Regions from separate parts of the Homo sapiens genome. Here all the other regions are linked to region 2. The links are contacts of gene promoters, found by promoter capture Hi-C in blood cells and fetal thymus (Javierre and others, 2016). All regions are on one chromosome and are shown on one strand. The core of a region is centred on a gene start or on the middle of the fragment in contact, and the rest is flanking DNA. Distances in the headings are between cores, read along the strand shown. Region 1 has its middle 90 kb from the start of LINC01981. Region 2 holds the start of EOMES (eomesodermin). Region 3 has its middle 66 kb from the start of LINC01967.

Region 1 (4,530 bases), core at 2,006-4,505, 200 kb after region 2:
TAAGTTTTCCCTTGTGACATGTGTCATGGTAGTTGCTCCTGAGTTCTCTAGGGCAAATAAGTCCACATCTCATTGGTATCTCCTCGGTATGTATTTTAGATTGAAGCTCATTCCCCTATCATGTCAGTCATTACTCAACTCTCTGCTTTTTTTTTTTTTTTTTTTTTTTTTTGAGAAGGAGTTTCACTCTTGTTGCCCAGGCTGGAGTGCAATGGCACGATCTCGGCTCACGGCAACCTCCACCTCCCAGGTTCAAGCGATTCTCCTGCCTAAGCCTCCCTAGTAGGTGGGATTACAGTCATGTGCCACCACACCCAGCTGGGTTTTTTTGTATTTTTAGTAGAGACAGGGTTTCTCCATGTTGGTCAGGCTGGTCTCGAACTCCCAACCTCAGGTGATCTATCCGCCTTGGCCTCCCAAAGTGCTGGGATTACAGGCATGAGCCACCACGCCCCGCCTCTGCTTTACATTTTCTAAAAATGTAATCACGCCTCTCCTTTTCTTGCTGGGTTATATTGTTTTTACTCCTTTATTGCTATTTTATTGGAGTGATAAGTCTGAGAGGAGATTAAGGAATGTATCCAATTTGTTATTTTTATCTATCTGGGCAACTTTTCTAAAAGGAGGAAGATAAAATGATTGTAAAAATATATATTTTTTAATCAAATTAGAGTTGGTAGATAAAATAAAATTCTGAACACTATTTTTTTTAAAAGTTGCTTAAATTAAGTCAGCAAATTGGGTTAGCTGTACTTAATCTCTTTCCATTTTAGTTTTCTCTCCTGTGAAATAATGGGCTCCCCAATCCAGGTGGTTATTAGAACCAACTTGGATGCTTTTTTATAATCCAGATCCATAGACAACAGGCCCAGAGATTCAGGTTCCACCTATCTGGAGTAGAAAGCATGAGGCCAAATCACCTCTTAGCACTCTGGGCACTTAAATATTCTGTGAGTTTGATAATTTCATTTCTATTCCTTGATTTCCTTTTTAACTGGGAACTCTTTTAGGAATGACAACTTTTCTAAATAGTTGGATAATAGTGGACTCATTTAGAGCCTTAAACTGAAATTCAGTATTGCATAAATCACAAATTAACAAGTGGAATCATGCAATTGATTATTAGCTGGGAGGGCCAAGATGGAGTATGAGAACATGCTGTATAATTTGAGAAAAAATATTAAAAAATATTTTTATATTTGGAAAATCAAACACCCCTTTTCTTACAACAACTTCAAAATAAAATGCAAAAATTTTTCGTATCTGACATGGTATGTCAGAAATATAATTTATTTTCTGCATACACAAAGCTCTGGGTGGCGGTGAAGGGAATGGTGTCATGAGATTTTCAGTTTATCCAAAGGGGTCATGGGTTTAAAAAGGTTGGAAAGCACTGCAGTAGTGAGATGGATTGGTTTCTGAAGAAAAGTGAGAAAATAAAACCATTAAGTCCAACTGTCACTCTTCCAACTGAATATTGAAACCACTTGGGAAAAAAACTTGAGTGAGGTTTACAGTCATAAGCAACTTTGGTATTTTTGAGGTTTGCCTGTGAATTGCCATTTAACTGTACCACATACTTCCTAGATATGTGATTAGTTGCCATATTTTAAAACTTTCAAAAATGTTAAGTTGCTTGCTATACTGGGCTAACTTATTAAAAGGTTTCTGTTCATTTGGATTAGAGGATCTGTGTGTTTTGGTATGGTTTATGGACAGAGGATTCAGAGACTGGGATTTCTGTTCTACTTACACAATAATGTAGTGTATGAACTGGAACAGGTCACTTAGTATGTTATCTTTAAGTCTTTGTATATCATACATTGCATGCAAGGGTGATTTGGCTCAAAATTTGTCACCCATGGACTGCCAGGCTCATTTGACTGACTGATTCAGCCAGCTAGGTAAGTGTCTTCTTCCTCCTTGCCTCTTTATATTGTTGACAAATAAGGACGTGTAATCTAAAATGATGTTGTTACTTAGTGTAGCAATGGTAGTAACAGTAGCAGTTTTTCTCCAGAAGAGTAAGAGGTGAAACTGGTTAAAGAGACTAGAATATTAATATTAAAAGCAATGGATCTAGTGACAAGAAAGCTGATTTTGAGTCCTGGTTCTCCCAGCCCCATGGACTTGGTTATGACAGTTTAAGATTTCCGAGCCTTAGTTTCTTTGTTTGTAAAACTGAGATTATAATAGCTATCTGATATAATTGTTTTCAGAACTAGAGGAAATAATGTTTTCAAGGGCTGAGTGCCATGGTTGGCATTTTGCCTGAAGATAATTGCAGCACTGCACCTTTTTAAGTAAAAGGATGATATGATTAGATTAATGTTTTAGAAAGTGTGGAGGATGAGTTGGAGGCACATAAAACTGAAGGGCAAGAGATTTGAAGCAGGTGAAAAGCTTATAATAATACAGCTGAAAAATTATACAATCTAAAATAAAGCAGAAGAAGAGGAAATGGAAAGGATGAGACCTAGTTGAGTGATAAGAAAGTAAGTGTCTTGAAAATAAGGCCCGTGTCTTATTCATCACACAATGCTTGCCATGGAGTAGGTCCTGGGAAAATATTTCTTATTTGATCATGGAATTGACTCAGTTTGATTGAATATCACCAAAAAGGTAATAAGATGAGAAAATTTAAAACTCTGATACTTTTCTTCTCATGTTCTCTATTACTCCTAACTTTATCCCTCCTTTTCTCTATCTCCAATTTGGGAAGCTAGGTGTTTTGCCTTCATTTCTTTGGGTAAAGGTTGCCATAGGAGAAAGTAAACTTTAAGATATGGTGAAGTTTGTAACTTCCATTTTTCAAAAGAGCCTATGGCTATTTAGAAGAAAACATGATGAATCGGAGTCGATATTTCCTTCACGGAAATGAACAAGATTCCCTATGCTGAAGGATGGAGATATTCTCAGAGGACGTGATGAGCCCTGGTGGCTTTCTGAGGTTGTAGGGGTTGGCTGAGAGTTGAGGAAACTGGATCCATTTGGAGATAGGCAATCCCAGGAGACCTATGCCTCTGTCTCCGGGTAGTGCCTGGGGGTGGGGGTAGGGAGGAGGCAAGCTCCAAAGTCCCCATCACCTAGCTGGATGAGGAAGCCTAACTGTGTGTGTGATGTGAACCTCATGGAGTTCCTTGTGTTGTGGCATGGCATTGCAGCAGCAGATGGTCATAGGGCCTGAAAACACAGCAGAATTCTCCACATTTCAGAGCAGGGTCCCAGAGTAAGAATTTTTTCAGGCACAGGTGTGACTCAAAAGAGAATCAGCATCTTAAAGAAGTGTTTTTTTTTTCTTTCTTTTTTTTTTTTTTTAAATTTTGAGACAGAGTCTCCTCACTCTGTCACCCAGGCTGGAGTGCAGTGGCATGATCTCGGCTCACTGTAACCTCCACCTCCTGGGTTCAAACGATTCTCCTGCTTCAGCCTCCCGAGTGGCTGGGATTACAGGCATGCGCCACCATGCCCAGCTACTTTTGTATTTTTAGTAGAGACAGGGTTTCACCATGTTGACCAGGCTGGTCTCGAACTCCTGACCTCAAGTGACCTACTGGCTTTGGCCTCCCAAAGTGCTGGGATTACAGGTGTGCACCACTACGCCCTGCTAATTTTGTATTTTTAGTAGAGATGGGGTTTCACCATGTTGGCCAGGCAGGTCTCGAACTCCTGACCTCAGGTGATCCACCCACCTCAGCCTCCCAAAATACTGGGATTACCGGTGTGAGCCACCGCACCTGGCTCTTAAAGAAGTCTTTGTAATGGGAACAACAGAGTGGAGCAGAAGGGTGCAATACTACCAATAAACACAGAGTGAAGATTTGAAGGGAACCAGGGCATCTGCGTGGATGACAGTGTAGATACCCACTGACAGTCACGTATTGTCTCCCATTTGATCCCTAAAACCTTGACATTATAAGTTCTGTGAACCTATGGCTCCAGAATTTTGATGCAACTCTGAGGGAAACTAAATTTAAATTGACTCATATTAAGTCTCTGCCACTCACTAGCATGGGAACTCACAATATAAATTGAATTCAGTAATAGAAAATATAAAGAAATTAAAATTTCTCATATTGTAAACTGAGGTTCAAACTCCCTATACAAACAAGCTTTTTTTGGAAATATTAATAAAAGTGGAGTAGGTGTTGATTGTAAATTGCTGCATGAACGAACACATTCTATCTTGTACAGAGCAGAGCACACATGAACACTGTTTAAACGTGGCAATCAAATTTGCAAAAGAGTATTAGCAAATTGGAGCCTGATGAGCATGGAAAGAGAATAACAATCATGCAGCAGGAGAAACAGTACAAAGATCTGTGATCCTTAGGTGAGACGATAGCAGTTGTTTAGTGGTATTCAAAGAGAATATTGAAGGGCAAAGGTGGAATGATTGCTAACCTTTATATGGCACTTACTATTTTCCAGACACTGTCCCAATCATTGACATGAGTTAACACTTTTCACAATAGCTCAGAGCATAGATACCTATTATTATCACTATTTACCAGGTGAAGAAATGAAGGA
Region 2 (4,323 bases), core at 1,324-3,823:
CTCTTGAAGGTCAATTTGGGGCCTTCTAAAGCTGTAAGGGCAACATCCGATGGAAGACAGTTGGATATTTATGGGTGAACTAAACTTTGGCTGGGCTTTCTCAAGTGAACATTAGAATCCCAGGAGCCCTTCCCACCTGGAGAGCTTATGACTACTGATTTGTTAAACGTAGGGATTGGGGGGTGGGGTGATGTCTTAGTTAAAGGTTCTAAATATCTACATATTGGCAGACAAGAAATCTGACTTAGCAAACTCTCCTCTCCGTCAAACAAGCAACTCAAAGACACTCATACTAACACCTCTAGGCCTCAGAATGGAAGGGGAAAAAAAAAGTGCTACATTTAAATGTGAGTTGTGTGAGTCGAGGGTTACGATTTCTTCCCGCCCGTTCCTCCCCGGCCCGAGCCTCTTCTCTGCTCACCCTGCATGTTATTGTCGGCTTTGCCACAGGTCACCCATTTGCCCCCCTGGAAGCGCCAGTGGTTGGGGTCCGCCAGCACCACCTCTACGAACACATTGTAGTGGGCAGTGGGATTGAGTCCGTTTATGTTGAAGCTCAAGAAAGGAAACATGCGCCTGTGCAAGGGAATAGAATCAGAAAAATCGATTTTAATTGGGATGTCCTAGAACAGGCCCAGGCCCCAGCGGGTTCCCCAGACACCTGGGATAGGGTCGGAACACATTTAAAAGTTTGCAGTGAACAGAATGCTGGTAGATCAAGTGGTCTGAAACTATGTAAAATATTTTTGAGTTGGCAACTCTTGGAACCTTTCCGTCTTTTCAAAAAAAAAAAAAAAAAAAAAAAAAAAAAAAAAAAAAAAAGCTTGCCCCAACATCGGTATATTCCAAATTCGCGCGTGCTTCCGAAGGCTCATATTCTCGGCCCTTTCAGACGCTCTTAAAATTTTTCTCCTAGAATGTTAAAAACTACTAATTTTTAAATGCACCATTTTGAAAAGTACCAGAGAACAATATTAGGTTATTCTTGTTAAAAATATATATTAAAACTTTAGGCTAAAAGTCCCCTTTGAGTGCCCCTCTCTCAGCACCCACCCCTCCCTTTCCCCAGAAGTAGCCAGTGTTAGCAGTTGGATGTATATCAGAACTTTCTCGCGCACCGAACCCGAGCCAGGTCTGGCTCCAGGGCAGATCTAACCACCTACTCCGACCGAGCTTCCGAGGCCGGCGCTCTAGCCTTCATGCCCACCTCCCGGAGACGCCCCGTGGAGACCCTGGCGCCTAAAACTGCGGGAGCCCATCTACTGCGCTCAGGTGGCCAGCTCTTGAGCCTTCCCTATCCGTGGCTCCTTGCCGGCATGCAGGCATGCACAAGCATACCGCCGAGCAGGAGGATCTAACGAATCCAGCTTGTGGACATGCCCTAATTTCCATTTCCGCCTCCTCCAGGTCTGTTCAGGTGAGGATGATGGGAGGGAAAAGCGGTGTACAGCCGTAACATTGGCACCCTGCAAGAGCCGCCGGGGCACTGACACAGAGGGACACCGCATTGGAGATGCGGTGTCTACGGAGATTTATTGCGCGCGGTGAAACACTCTAAGCACCGCGCGGAACAACTGGGTTCAGCTCCCTCATCCCGGACCTTCCCCAGGACCACACGTCACCCTTTATCCCCGAACCCAGGGGCCCCTCCACGCTGCGCTCACCTGCCCTGTTTCGTAATGATCATCTCAGTTTGGTGGCGGTGGAATTTGAGCCACAGAGGCCGGTTGCACAGGTAGACGTGGGCACGGAAGCCAGAACCTGGAACCCCCAGGCCCCCCAGTCCTCCGCAAGATCCCGCCGCTGCGGCTCCAGGGTACGGCCCGTAGAGCGGAGCCCCCTGGCTGTACTGATAGGTGCCCGGGCCGCCGCCCCCGCCGCTGCTACCGCCCGCGCCACTGCCCGCACCGGCTCCTGGGCCGAACTGCGCCCTCCCGGGTGGGCACACAGCCGCGGGGAAGCCGCCGGGGGGCAGCATGGAGCCGTAGGGGTAGCGCGCCCCGTTAGGAGCCGGGTACACAGGTCCGTGGGGCGCCCCAGCCGCCGCCTGGTACGGGAAGAGTGAGCAGGGCGCAGCCAGCTCCGACCCCTGAGGACCGGGGGACTGGAGGTAGTACCGCTCGGAGCTCAGGCTGTCCATGGAGTAGCGCGCAGTGGCCGCAGCCGCGGCGGCGGCGGCGGCGGCGGCTGCAGCGGCGGAGGGCAGCTCCTCCTCCCCGCAGGGGGAGCCCTTGCGGCCGTCCGGGGGCCCCGGCTTGGCCACTGCCGCAGCGCTGGCAAATGCGTCCCCGGCGTCGGTGTCACTAAGCATGGCCGCGGGGGCCCCTGCGCTGGCGGCTGCGGGCTCCCCGCTCACCGCCTCGCAGGAGAGACTGCCGGAAAACTTCTTGGACGCTTTGTCTAAGTCCAACTTCTGAGGAGAGGGGGCCGCGCTGGGGAGGTGGCCAGCGCTCCCGCCGCTGCCGCCTCGCGCACTCTCCAGCGGGTAGAAGTGCGCGCCAGGCAGGTTCACTGAGCTCACCAAGAGCTGCTCCCCTAACTGCATGCTTTGCAAAGCGCAGACGGCAGCTGGCTGCTTCCTCTCCTCCGGTGGCCTTATTATAAAGGCAGGATGGGGGAGCCAGCGCCCTCTTCCGAGGGGAAGGTAACTTCCCCTTCCTCCCGCGCCGGGGCTACCCACCTGCCGACTCGCGGGCCGCTACTGCGCGTACTGGCGCGCCCTGAATCCAGCGTCCTTTCCGGAAGGAAAGCGCCGTGAGTTGGAAAGCAGGAGGTGGAAACTAACCCAGAAGCCCTCTCCTTTTCCTTCCTCGTACCTCTTGCTCCTCAGGACCCCCACCCTCCTCCCAGGCTCACACGCTGGAAGAAGGTGACTTAGATCTTTGTCCCCATCCACCCACTAGCCCGCGCCTTTCTGCCCTTTTTCAATTGCCAAAGCATCGGTCAAGTTGACCACTTGGAAACTTATGGGCTGTCACTAGCTGCTTTATATATTTGCGGCCAGGGAGGGGCTTCCCGGCCTCACAGCCCGGAGACCCTCCTATTGGCTGGTGGAGGTGACACTAATTCAATTAGGCATTTACTAATTGGATCAAGTCGCCTGTGACTTTCTTTTCCTTTTTTTTTTTTTTTTTTTTTTTTTTTTTTTGAGACTGCGTCCCGCTGTGATAATCAATCCTGGTGTCTGTAATTTCGCCGGAATTTAGGGGGACAAAGTTTGGGGTCTCCATAGCGGTGTCCACCCTTGGCGCATTAGTCATCTCAGCCCTCCGCTGGAGGAATGAGATGGCTGGAGCAGATTTTAGAGGCCAGAGAGAGAAAGACTCTTCAAGCTGATAGCTTGCAGGGAAGCGCCCGTCCCGGAGGCTGGGGAAACTGGGGCAAGTTGGAGACAGGCCCAAGGAAGTCTCTTTCCTCGTCGGAAGCTGTAACTTCAAAGCACACCTTCCTCTTGTCGAAGGCAAACTCCCTGGCCTTCAACGCACAGAACCACTTTTTGTTTGTTCCCATCCTTTTACCCAGTGGGAAAGGTTTGTAGAGAGGAAACTCGCGCTAAGCTTTTGGGATTCCGGGGACGGCCAGAGCACATTGCCATCCTGGAGGACCTAAGCTCTCAGCTTCTAAATCAGAAGCTTGGACAGGGTACTGGGGACAGGACAAGAGTGAAACTAAGCGAGCTAACACCAACTTCATACTCACGCCAACACAACTGCTTTCGGGGAGACAGTCACTTTTATTCCCCACAATTTAAAATCCTTTCTGCTCAGTTTTCCTGATCCCGGATTCCGTCCCTTCACCACCATCTTCAGTTAGGCCTGACACCAAGAAACAAAGCTTCCCTAACAGCCCCACAGTTAGGATTCCCTGCGCCTCTGCTCTGCGGCAAATACAGAAGGTAGAATAATTAGTGAAATAATCAGTTTGATATTGAATTAAACTCCAGCTGCTTGTTTCTTCGCTGCGTTTCCTCAGATAGATTCAAGAGCGGGGCCGTCATATTTTATCGTTTCATTATTACGGAAGCGGGGGGCACGTTTCGTTGCGGATAAGGAGAAGCCTGAATATTCGCTGTTAATAAGCAATTACAGACGCCGCCAGTAATCGCTCCGGGAGCGCATTTTCCGGCTGAGATGTCGGGACTCTGCTTCCCCAACCGAACGCGATCACACGGGAAACTCTTCGCCCACAACAGATGAGATGGCCAAAGGATTGCTGAGTGCGCACACGCAAGTGTAGAACAGTGCGAAGCTTTCCAACCCAGTTTTCCAACCACAGCAGCACCAACATCGGCATGTCTGGGGTCTCCGAGAACGAGGTCCTTAA
Region 3 (4,499 bases), core at 1,115-3,614, 240 kb after region 2:
AAGCAATCCAAGAGAAATGAAATTGCAAAAATGTATTACAAGAAAATAGATGTGTGGGCATAGTCTTTGAACCAAACTTATGAGTCATGTTTTACTCAGCATTAAAACCAGCCTAGGAAAAAAGCCATAATTATACTCAGCTAATGATTATCAGCTGAGGAAAAACATACAACGCATAGAACATGACTCATTTGTGAGAGGCAGTCACCATCATTTTACAACACAGTGACTGGAAAGTGATTAAAGATGCATAATGTGAATGATGCCTAAAATTTCCACCCTTACAGAAGCTGCCGTAAAATGCCATACTCTAGTTAAGCTTATGGAGAGGGAAACTAGCTCTAGAGAAAAGTACTAAGATTATTTGTGCTTTTAGCTCTTTTGTCTCAGAAGGGTGTCCTCTTATACTTCTGTTTTCTCACAAAAAATGCTCACCAAAATTGTAATCTGCTTAGAATGTAGTTGAAATGCCTCACTGGAGGAGCCTGAAGAATTGGGTTTCTTCTTTTTTTAGTAGATTTAATTTTTCAGAGCAGTTTTAGGTTCAGAGCAAAATTGAATGGAAGGTACAGAGATTTTCCCTATACTTCCTCCCCCGCCACATACACAGCCTCCCCAACTATCACCATCCCCAATCAGAGTGATACATTTATTACAATTAATGAACTTACATTGACACATAATTATCAAAGTCCATAGTTCACATTAAGGCTCACTCTTAGTATTGTACATTCTATGGGTTTGCACAAATTTATAATGGCATGTATTCAACATCATAGTATCACAGAGTAGTTTCATTGCCCTACAAATCCTCTGTTCTCTCTGCTTCACATATTCACTCTTTCCTTCCACTTAACCCCTGAATTTTTACAGTCTCCACTGTTTTGCCTCTTCCAGAATGTCATATACAGTAGCTGGAATCTACAGTGTATATGATTGGTTCTGTTTTTAAAGCTGCAATTTATTACCTGTGATTTGTGAAATGTTGTTAACTTACCTAAGCTCCTTGGATGTTGATTTCCTCACCTGTGAAATGGTGACAGAGGACTTGCTCTGTCCTGGGACAGCTGTGAATGTTGGACCATGCAGCAGTGCTTTGGAAATGGCTGCACTCTAATAAAGACCACAGGGAGGAGAATAAACACAAGCTTTTGAAGATGATAAAAGTCACTTCTAAAGACTGAAATTTTGTGGTCTGTTGGAAAAGTTTGGACAGGATAGGGTATACATTTGTTTCCTGGTTTATACAGAAAAACTGGAATATAGAGATTGAGATAACTTACTTAAATGCATACACTGGGTCACTTTTCATGTGTACATTTTCTGTAGACTATTCTAGCAATATCTATATTCATTAAAACAACAAAAGGAAGCCAGTCATTGCATCTTTACTTTTCAAATCACATTTTATTTGGAAGGTGTTGCAGGCTGAATTGTCTCCTCCAAATTTACAAGTTGAAGTCCTAATCTCTAGTACTGCAGAATGTGACTATATTTAGAGATAGTGTCTTTAAAGAGGTGACTAACCTAAAATGAGTCCATTGGGGTGGGCTTTAACTTAATACGACTTCTTTTTCTAAGAAGAGAAGATTGCAACATAGACTTGTCCAAATTACCCAATCTGTGGTACTTTGTTATGATAGTCATAGCAAACTTATATGTAAGGGTCCTCGTTGTTTTTTGTTTTTGTTTTTTCCATCAGTAAAATGTATTGAGCACTTACAATGCATCCAGTGCTGTGTTCAATGTTTTATATGCATTGCTTTATAACTCTTCTGTAAGAGATGTTGTTATTAACACCAATTTTACGTTGTTAGTTTTTAAGGGGCTACCTTTACCAAGCTAAAACTGCACGAACAGGGCAATGATATCACTTCATTTTACAGAATTAGGAAAATCATTCTTTATTGTGAATCAGATTCACACCTCGAAATGGACTTTCTGAGCCCAGGATATGCAGTTTCTGATTAACTGGAGATAAAGAATAGAGAATACATTACTCAGCTGATGGTAATATTTTCTATAATTATATGTCCTGGTTAAGCACACTCATGGACTTGGCATATTTTTGTAAATCATCAGCTGTGTATGCCCCATTAATAAATAAGTGACATGCAGAGAGATGACAGTGATGCGAATTAGAAATAGGCTGTCTACACCCTGGAGACAGGGAAGGAATGGAGGCAGAGGATTTGATAAGTCAAACCATGGTAGTGACAGTAACCACTCCATGGCCAAGCACCACGGAGTCCTTTCACTTGAACCACATTGAACTTCTTGGAAGCTTGTAAACTTGAAATGAGCTTCACATCATAAGCCAGGGAAGAATGTCTGTAACTATGCTCCTGAAATTTAGTGTACATATGAGTTCCCTGGGGTCTTGTTAAGATGCTGATTTTGAATCAGGCAGGCCTGAGGTAAGGTATGAAATTCTACATTTCTAACAAGCTTCAAGGTAATGCCAATGCTACTGGTTTGGGGGCAATTCTTTGAGCAGAACGTGCAGTAGCAGGAGAACAAAGGGCAAAGGAAGGTAGGTAGACTAGAAAGGCATCAAAAGGAATCTTAGAGACCCTCAGCCTCATTTTGAAATTAAGGAAATACAAATTAAAGTCATGGAATAGCATGTCCTGCCTATTTCTTTGGCAAAGCTCTGAAGACTTGATGAGGCGTGGTAGGAAGGAGTATGTGTTTCTCTCATGCATCACTTGTTGAAGTGTTAATAAATACAACTTTGAAGATGGGAATTTGGCTTTATCTGTTAAAATGGAAAAGGCACATACTTTTGAGCCCAGTATTTTTATTTCTGCAAATATGTCCTGTAGATATGCTCATATTTGTGCAAAAACACAGTCTATATTTTCTGTTAAAGAGTTATTTATGTGTGAGTATATTTATACACTAGAACATTTGTAAAATATCTCTGGATAACTATAAAAAAAAGAGATAATAGCACAATCTCTGACAGAGGAGAATGTTCAAGGAACTAAGAGTTTTGGGATAGGAGGTGATTTACTTGTCACTTTTGTATTGGGAATTTTTTTTTTTTTTTTTTTTTTTTTTTTTGAGACGGAGTCTCCTTCTGTTGCTCAGGCTGGAGTGCAATCTCGGCTCACTGAAACCTCTGCCTCCCGGGTTCAAGCCATTCTCCTGGCTCACCCTCCAAGTAGCTGGGATTACAGGTGCGTACCACCATGCCCACCTAATTTTTGTATTTTCAGTAGAGACACGGTTTCATCATGTTGACCAGCCTGGTGTTGAACTCCTGACTTCAGGTGATCTGCCTGCCTCAGCATCCCAAAGTGTTGGGATTACAGGTGTGAGCCACCGTGCCTGGCCAATTTTTTAAAAAGCCATATTCATGAATTAATTTTATGTTTTAGTTAAAAAAGGGAGTGGAGTGAGGTGGGAGAGATAATTTAGAGGGCTCATGAAAGAGAGAATTAGGACCAAGAAGGTGATGCTGCTTTCTTTTCCCTCTGAGGTCACACCAAGGAAGCCACCATCATTGTCTGCTCATAAAAACAACTCCCACCAGTTTCACAGATCCCTCACTGCTGCCTGCACAGGGTTCAGCCTCTTGGGTCACCCAAAAGTCATTTTGTGCTTCTGGGGCACTTTAGATTTCTAGAGAAAGAGAATCATGCAGGCCAGTTTCAGAAAGAGCGGAATTTATTGGACTACAACTGGAACGTCTTCGGGTATCAAATCTATCCTAGAAAGCAGACATGCTGTCTTTCTGAATCTCTTTGTGAGTCAGCCTCTCTCTGTCTGTCTTTCTCTCTTCCTCTCTCTCTCTCTCTCTCAATATATATATATATAGTCATATGACATAGTGTATGTATGTCATATAATGGCATTTTATATACTTATATAGATAGATAAATATATGTCACACACACACACACACACACATACACACACACACATATATAATGTCACCACCTTCTCCACTACCCACTAGCAAGCATTCCCACTCACCCCGGACTGTGTATTTTTTCTTTAGCTTATGCTACTAGCATTTCTGTCCTGCTCGTAACTTGGAACTCCCTATTGTCTTCATAGTCCTACTCTACCCTGTATCTCAGTTTCTGATTCTAAAAGGTTTTACAGTTTTTTCAGTGTTTCCATATTCCAGTTTCTGAGAGGTGGACTCTGAACCAGCTTGACCATAATATGAGTGATTGGGTAGGAATCACAGGGCAGAATCGCTCCTGCATCCCCTGCAGAGGCTGTTGGTTTGCTGCTTCATATAAAGAGGGGAGTTTTATATGGAGTAGAAACCATGACTGACATTTCTAAGACCTTTTTGCAAACTCACCTTCTTAAAGATCCAGGCTTGATGTCTAGGGACAAATAAAACTTGATTACTTGCAATTCTCCAATCTTCTGTGGCATGTCACTTATCTTTCTGTTGATAAACCAGAAAGTCTGACTCCTCTGCAGAGCCCATTCTACTTACAGACCACAGGCAGATTGAGATGGGTATCATTTTTCCA

What was found. Contacts are between HindIII fragments. The CHiCAGO score rates a contact against its expected background, and 5 or more counts as called.
Region 1: a fragment that was not itself captured here is called in contact with the fragment with the promoter of EOMES in region 2 in 6 of 17 cell types (total CD8 T cells, non-activated CD4 T cells, activated CD4 T cells and 3 more); the score reaches 12.9 in total CD8 T cells.
Region 3: a fragment that was not itself captured here is called in contact with the fragment with the promoter of EOMES in region 2 in 5 of 17 cell types (total CD8 T cells, activated CD4 T cells, naive CD8 T cells and 2 more); the score reaches 10.4 in total CD8 T cells.

What each region holds. Positions count from the first base shown.
Region 1 is chr3:27,922,033-27,926,562 of GRCh38, forward strand. No RefSeq gene overlaps it. Among named protein-coding and RNA genes, the nearest start is that of LINC01981, 90 kb to the left of the region's middle. The HindIII fragment of the contact is 1,709 bases long and covers 2,402-4,110 here.
Region 2 is chr3:27,719,750-27,724,072 of GRCh38, forward strand. It overlaps EOMES (eomesodermin), which reads right to left and starts at 2,574. Exons shown (of 6, transcript NM_001278182.2): 1 at 1,665-2,574; 2 at 422-576. The coding sequence starts at 2,545. RefSeq lists a silencer at 2,000-2,209. The HindIII fragment of the contact is 2,734 bases long and covers 822-3,555 here.
Region 3 is chr3:27,960,171-27,964,669 of GRCh38, forward strand. No RefSeq gene overlaps it. Among named protein-coding and RNA genes, the nearest start is that of LINC01967, 66 kb to the right of the region's middle. The HindIII fragment of the contact is 164 bases long and covers 2,283-2,446 here.